2 separate regions of the Homo sapiens genome follow, and region 2 is linked to region 1. Evidence: promoter capture Hi-C in 16 types of primary human blood cells and fetal thymus (Javierre and others, 2016). All regions are on one chromosome and are shown on one strand. The core of a region is centred on a gene start or on the middle of the fragment in contact, and the rest is flanking DNA. Distances in the headings are between cores, read along the strand shown. Region 1 holds the start of STK4 (serine/threonine kinase 4). Region 2 has its middle 23 kb from the start of SERINC3.

Region 1 (3,139 bases), core at 360-2,859:
CCCATAGACATTAAAATCCTAGCTCTGTCTCTTACTTGCTATGACTTCTCCCAGCAAATCACTACCCTCTGTATCTCAGTTTTATCATCTGTAAAACAGACATATAGGGATATCTACCACACAGGATTGTTGTGAGGTTCAAATGAGTTCAAATGAGGTTTTTATGGTTCAAAAATGGTCAAATATCAGCAATTTCATATGCTTCAGCAGGACACATGGAAAGCACTTAGAACAGTGCCTGGCACCCGGTAAGTGCAATATGAGTGTAATAATCATTACTATTACAGTCTCAGCACACTACGCTAGGGTGAATCCAAAGCCCATCCCAACCACCTATTTGCCTTCTGCAATGTTTGTGCACCTCAAACATCCCCAAGCTCAAACAACCCCTAAGAGTGCTGCCCAGGCAGTCAATCCCTTCTCTTCACCTCTTGGTTGCCCTGCACTTCCACACCCTGAACACTTCCTTCTTTAGAGCTCATTCTGCTGCAGGAAGTCAGACGTCTCTGTGAAATAGAAGTAACCACACTGAACCTCAGAGAAGCATGACTCCTTCGGTCTCTAGTCCCTACTTTTCTCCAGATGTGGTAGAGTGGCAAAAGACCCGGGATGTCCACAAGGGAAATCCAGGAGTTGAGATTTTCTAGGATCAGCCACCATCCTGATCTTGAACTAAAGCAATTCCAGGTACCACTAGGATTTGGTGCTGATATTCACAAAACAACTGAGGCCTGAAAAGGGCACAGACTGGCAGGGTTCAGTGACCCGGAGTAAAGAAGGAAACACTTCCCAACTACTCTGGACCTCAGTCTCCCCATCTCGAAAATATCCTCTTATTTCCTTACCTACCTCCCAATGTCAGGTTCTGAAGAGCTGAGGAGGATGTGAAGACCATTAGGAAGACACTGAACATCAGTAATAAAAGATGCCATCCTACAGTGGGGACACCACCAACAGCATCCTCTGAAATGCTACCCTCCACCATCCCCTCCCTTGCTAGACCCTCAACCTTTCCTCGCATGCTTTCAGCCTTAGGCGCAAAGCTTTTCCCCTCCACAGATCCCCCCACCGCACCCCTCAAGTGGGACTTCAGACCCTTAGAAAGTCCACCCGGCCTTCCTCTTGGCCAGTTCTCGATCCACCCCCTTAAAGAGATCCCTCACAGATTCTCACCCTGCTTCAGCATTCGCCCCCACCTCCGTGAGTCCCTGCTTGGATAGCGTTCCCCCGAGTGGCCCGGCCTCAGCAGGTACTCTCCCTAACTTGTCCCCACGTTCCTCAGCACAGTCTCACCACAGCGAGTGCTCCCTCTAACCGGTCCCAAGTCTAACCTCCTTAGCAGATGCTCCCCTCAGCCGGACCCTCACCCACCAGACGTCCCCCCCCTCACTCAGCAGGTGCCCCATCGGCTGGGTCGCTTAGCTCCGGGGACTCCCACACAGGTGTATCCCCTCAACCAGTTCCCGCCTTTTCTTCCCCTGACCCCATGCCCGTCCTCTTAGCCAGTGGCCCCTCACCGGCGCGGCGGGTTCCTCAGCTGTACCGTCTCCATGGCGCTGCCAGCAGCCGCCCAGACCCGCTCACTGCTCCATCCTCCCGCGGACCTCCTGAGCCCGCCCCGCAGACCCTCCCACACTTCCGCTTTCCGCCCCTACCGGAAGCGGCGCGCGGCGCGGGAGCGGGGCGGAGCCACGGCCCTGATCACGTGGTTCGGGCGTGAGTCTTGTGGCGCGGTGGGGCGCGGACCCGGAACCGCCAAGTGGTGAAGGCGCCTCCAGGCGGTGCCCGCTGGTCTCTAGAGTGTCAGTGGCGCTGTCTTCCTGCGTTACCGGAGCGCACAAAATACTCGGTCCCCAGGCCGAGAACGCACCTCTACCTGGGTCCTGGGTCCCATTTCACAGACTGAGATGCGTGAAGCGCCTCCTTTAGAAGAGCTGACAATTCTTAGCAAACCAAGTTTTGCGTGATTTTGGGGAGGCGGCGCTGCCCCAGGAACGCCTGGAGGTATTTGTGGTTTTCTGCCGCTTACCTGGTTGAACTCTGGTCCCAACGGGCCCCCTGCACATTTTCTCCTACAATGCATCAACGCGCAAATTGCCCCACTGTCTTTCTTAAAGGCCTCCCCTTTAAGTCAGTTTGCAGACATAAAAATAAGCAACATTAATTAAGCATTTGCCGTGTACTTGTCTTCATATATTATCTCATTTAATCCCCTGTGTCAAGCCGATAAGGTCATCCCCGTTTTTATTTATTTAATGATTTAACACAGTCCCTAAACGTTTTCAGTGCTTTACCTCATTTAATACTCCTAACAACCTAGACGGTATTATTATTATTCCTACTTCATAAGGCCAGAGAGGTGAAGTATCTAGCCCAAGGTCACATAGCTTAGAGTATAGGTTTGGGGATTTAAATCCAGTTTGGTCTGATTTCAGGGCCTGCACCACCAAACTGGACAGCCATGGGTGTGTAACCTCTTTTTGGGCCTGAGAAACAGACCTTTCTCTCCACTCAGAGCTCCGGCTTCAGCTATTGTGCTTCCGAATGCCACTACCATCAGTAAGTATTAGGAAAATGGCAGATTCTACCCAATTGACCCATGGGGAAAGTTATAGGAGAAAACTTAACCAGAGCAACCTCTCACTGTTTTTAATTGCCTTGCTTTTCCCAAGGATATGCCATCTACAGAACTTAACACCTGAGCACCCACCCTTCAGGGCCACCCATGGGCCCAAAACGGGATAAAGGAGCCATTCCCTGACATAGGAGGAAAACATTTGCTGAGAAGCTACTGTGTGCCAGACACAATCTTGGACTTTCACTTAATCCTCAAAACAGCCCTAGGAAGAAGTACCTACCGTTAACAGATAAGAAAGCTGAGACCCACGGTTTACACAGCTAAGGAGAGCAAAGGTTTTAACCCAGGACTGTCCTGACTCCACAACATCAAAGTTGTTGTTTTGTTTTTGGTGTTTTGTAGAAACAGGATCTCCCTATTATTACCCAGGCTGGTCTCAAACTCCTGGGCTGCAGCAGTCCTCCCACCTCGGCCTCCCAGAGTGCTGGGATTACAGGCAAGAGCCACCACACCTGGCTGATGAATAGGAATTGGGTAAACATTTTTGAAAATTAAATACCA
Region 2 (3,139 bases), core at 320-2,819, 420 kb after region 1:
CTGAGACGGGTGGAATTACCTGAGGTCAGGAGCTCGAGACCAACCTGGTCAACATGGTGAAACCCCGTTTCTACTAAAAATACAAAAATTAGCCGGGAGTGGTGGTGCATGCCTGTAGTCCCAGCTACCCGGGGGGCTGAGGCAGGAGAATCGCCTGAACTGGGAAGGTAGAGGCTACAGTGATCCAAGATTGTACCATTGCACTCCAGCATAAGCAACAAAGTAAGACTCTGTCTCAAAAAAAAAAGAACTCAAAAAAACAAAAAATATACTAGAGAAGATGTCTCTGGAAAGAAGTTCACCAGGGCACAATTTATAATGACCAACAATAAGGCCTGGTGATATTCATTTCAATTGATACACAGTAACCCATACATAACAACTTAAGAAACAAAGTAGAAGTTCTCTCCTTGATGGAATCAGAACTAATAATGGTATAACTCATTTTTTAAAAAATACAGTTAAAGAGAGGAATCATTAAAAATGCATGTTTATTTTCCAAATACTGGCTAAGGGATGAAAGCCTCTCCTCTCCTCTCTCCTCTCCTTCTCTTCTCTGAGACAGGGTCTCTCCCTGTCACCCATGCTGGACTGCAATGGCATGATCATGGCTCACTGCAGCCTCAACCTCCCTGGGCTCAGGTGATTCTCCCACCTCAGCCTCCGAGTAGTTGGGAGTACAGGCATGCACCACCACAACCTGCTAATTTTTGTATTTTTTGTAGAGACAGGGTTTTGCTGTATTTCCCAGGCTTGTGTCTCGAACTCCTGGACTCAAGTAATCCACCTGCCTCAGCCTCCCAAAGTGCTGGGATTATAGACATGAGCCACTGTGCCCAGTGAAGGCCTTTTCTTGAGAGTAAGTTCAAGCAATTAAAGTTTCTGCATGAACTACACTCATGATGTACATCTATGATTTTCAGTTTTTACTGGAATGATACTTGTGAAGTGTTCTGAAGGCAGAAACATATATGTATATATATGTTTTGGAGACAGGGTCTTACTCTGTGTCCCAGGCTGGAGTAAGTACAGTGGCGTGATGATAGTTCACTGTAACTTCAAACTCCTGGGCTTAAGTGATCCTCCCACTTCAGCCTCCCAAGTAGCTAGGACTACAGGGACACACCACCACATCTGGCTAATTTTCTTTTTGTAGAGACGGGGTCTCACTGTTGCCCAGATTGGTCTCAAACTCCTGGCCTCAAGTAATCTTCCTGCCTCAGCCTCCCAGTGCTAGGATTACAGGTGAGAGTTACCCTATCTGTCAGAATCTCCATATTTTTATAATTTTTTTCTTCAATCTTTTCAGAGGTCTCTTCCACCCCTAATTTGACAAAAATATTTTTTCTTAGCCATTTGCCTTTATCAGGTAAGCACATTCAACTTATTTTTCATAAAAGCAGTATCTTTTTTCCTTTTTCCCTTTACATTTCATTGGTTAACATAATATTTAATTATTTTGTAATCACAATAATAAAACTAAACAGGCTGGGGAACAAACCCAGTTGATTCTTATTGATTGTCACTGTTAGCAACACATTATGAACAAATATTTATAATGCAGGCCGGGCATTGCAGGCGCAGTGGCTCACACCTGTAACCCCAGCACTTTGGGAGGCCAAGGTGGGTGGATCACCTGAGGTCAGGAGTTCGAGACTGGCCTGGCCAACATGGCAAAACCCTGTCTCTACTAAAAATACAAAAATTAGCTGGGCATGGTGGGGCACGCCTGTAATCCTAGCTACTCCAGAAGCTGAGGCAGGGGAATTGCTTGAACCCAGGAGGTGGAGGTTGTAGTGAACCAAGATTGTGCCACCGTACTCCAGCTCAGGCCACAGAGCAAGATTCCATCTCAAAAAAAAAAAAAAAAAAAAAAAAAAAAGAAAGAAGGAAGGAAAGAAAGAAAGAAAAGAAAAGAAAAGAAAGAGGAAAGTCAATGTAAAAACTGCAATTTTCTCCAAATACAGGGTATAGCTGACATTGTTGGCCGCCTCCTGTGGTGGGCACTGCCCACTTCCAGGCTTGTATCTATTTCTCATTCTTCCACAGCTGCAGAATCCCTGTTTTGGGGAATGGCAATGTGTACAGCTAAGAAACTGCATTTACCAGCCTTCTTCACAAGTAAGAATGGACAATGAGATGTAAACTGAACATGGTGGTTGGGACTTAGGGTACTTTAAAGGGTGTCCTCTGCCCTCCCCTTTCCTACTTCTTCCTGCCTCAAAGACCGTTTGGCTAGAGAGCCAGAGCCAACACGTGCGACCACTTGGTGACTGCAAGCTGTGTGATAAGCATGGTGAAACAGAAAGAGAGAAAGATCTAGGCTGCCTGATGGCACTGTGGAACTGCCATGCCAGGAACAGACTATCTACTTTGGACTTAATATTTTTTGAGAGAAAAATAACCTGTCTTCTTTAAAGCACTGTTATCAGCAGCCAACACAATTCCTCTTCGACCAATCTACTCAGCGTCCATTCACCTACTCATAGAAAAAAAAAAATTTTCCTAACAGAAACACAATTCTGTTTCTGAATGGTCTAGAGATAATTTCATCCCTCTTGTAAATGGCTTGTTCAAGAACCAGGCCTAAGCCCATCAGGGCATCACATTGCCCTACTAACAAAAATTGGCTCAGGAATGAGCATATGACCCAGTCCAGGCCAATGAGATTCTAGGGTAGTTCTCTGGAGGCTTCTGAGAAAAATTCTCACTCTAAGGAACAATCTTTTTTTTTTTTTTTTTTGAGGCGGAGTTTTGCTCTTGTTGCCCAGGTCGGAGTGCAGTGGTGTGACCTCAGCTCACTGCAACCTCCACCTCCCAGGTTCAAGCGATTCTCCTGCCTCAGCCTCCCGAGTAGCTGGGACTACAGGCGTCTACCATCACACACGGCTAATTTTTTGTATTTTTAGTAGAGACGGGGTTTCACCATGTTGGTCAGGCTGGTCTCGAATTCCTGACCTCAGGTGATCCACCCGCCTCGGCTTCCCACAGTGCTGGGATTACAGGTATTTTACGGGTGTAAGCCACCGCGCCCAGCCAAGACAATCTTTCTATTCCTTAGGTGGGTGCCATACATAAATCTGGGGCCTAGGCCTACTGCAGCTATTTTGCTGCTAGCCTGAGGAAGAAGCCAATACTC

What was found. The method cuts DNA at HindIII sites, captures the fragments that hold promoters and counts their contacts. A CHiCAGO score of 5 or more calls a contact.
Region 2: a contact is called between a fragment that was not itself captured here and the fragment with the promoter of STK4 in region 1, in 1 of 17 cell types (erythroblasts). The highest score is 5.1, in erythroblasts.

What each region holds. Positions count from the first base shown.
Region 1 is chr20:44,964,982-44,968,120 of GRCh38, reverse strand. It overlaps STK4 (serine/threonine kinase 4), which reads right to left and starts at 1,609. Exons shown (of 11, transcript NM_006282.5): 1 at 1,518-1,609. The coding sequence starts at 1,552. It overlaps STK4-DT (STK4 divergent transcript), which reads left to right and starts at 1,663. Exons shown (of 3, transcript NR_038341.1): 1 at 1,663-2,004; 2 at 2,436-2,559; 3 at 2,673-3,139. RefSeq lists an enhancer at 315-394 and a silencer at 1,535-1,784. The HindIII fragment of the contact is 5,160 bases long and covers 1,046-3,139 here.
Region 2 is chr20:44,543,669-44,546,807 of GRCh38, reverse strand. It overlaps a transcript of PKIG not described here. Among named protein-coding and RNA genes, the nearest start is that of SERINC3, 23 kb to the right of the region's middle. The HindIII fragment of the contact is 4,199 bases long and covers 1-3,139 here.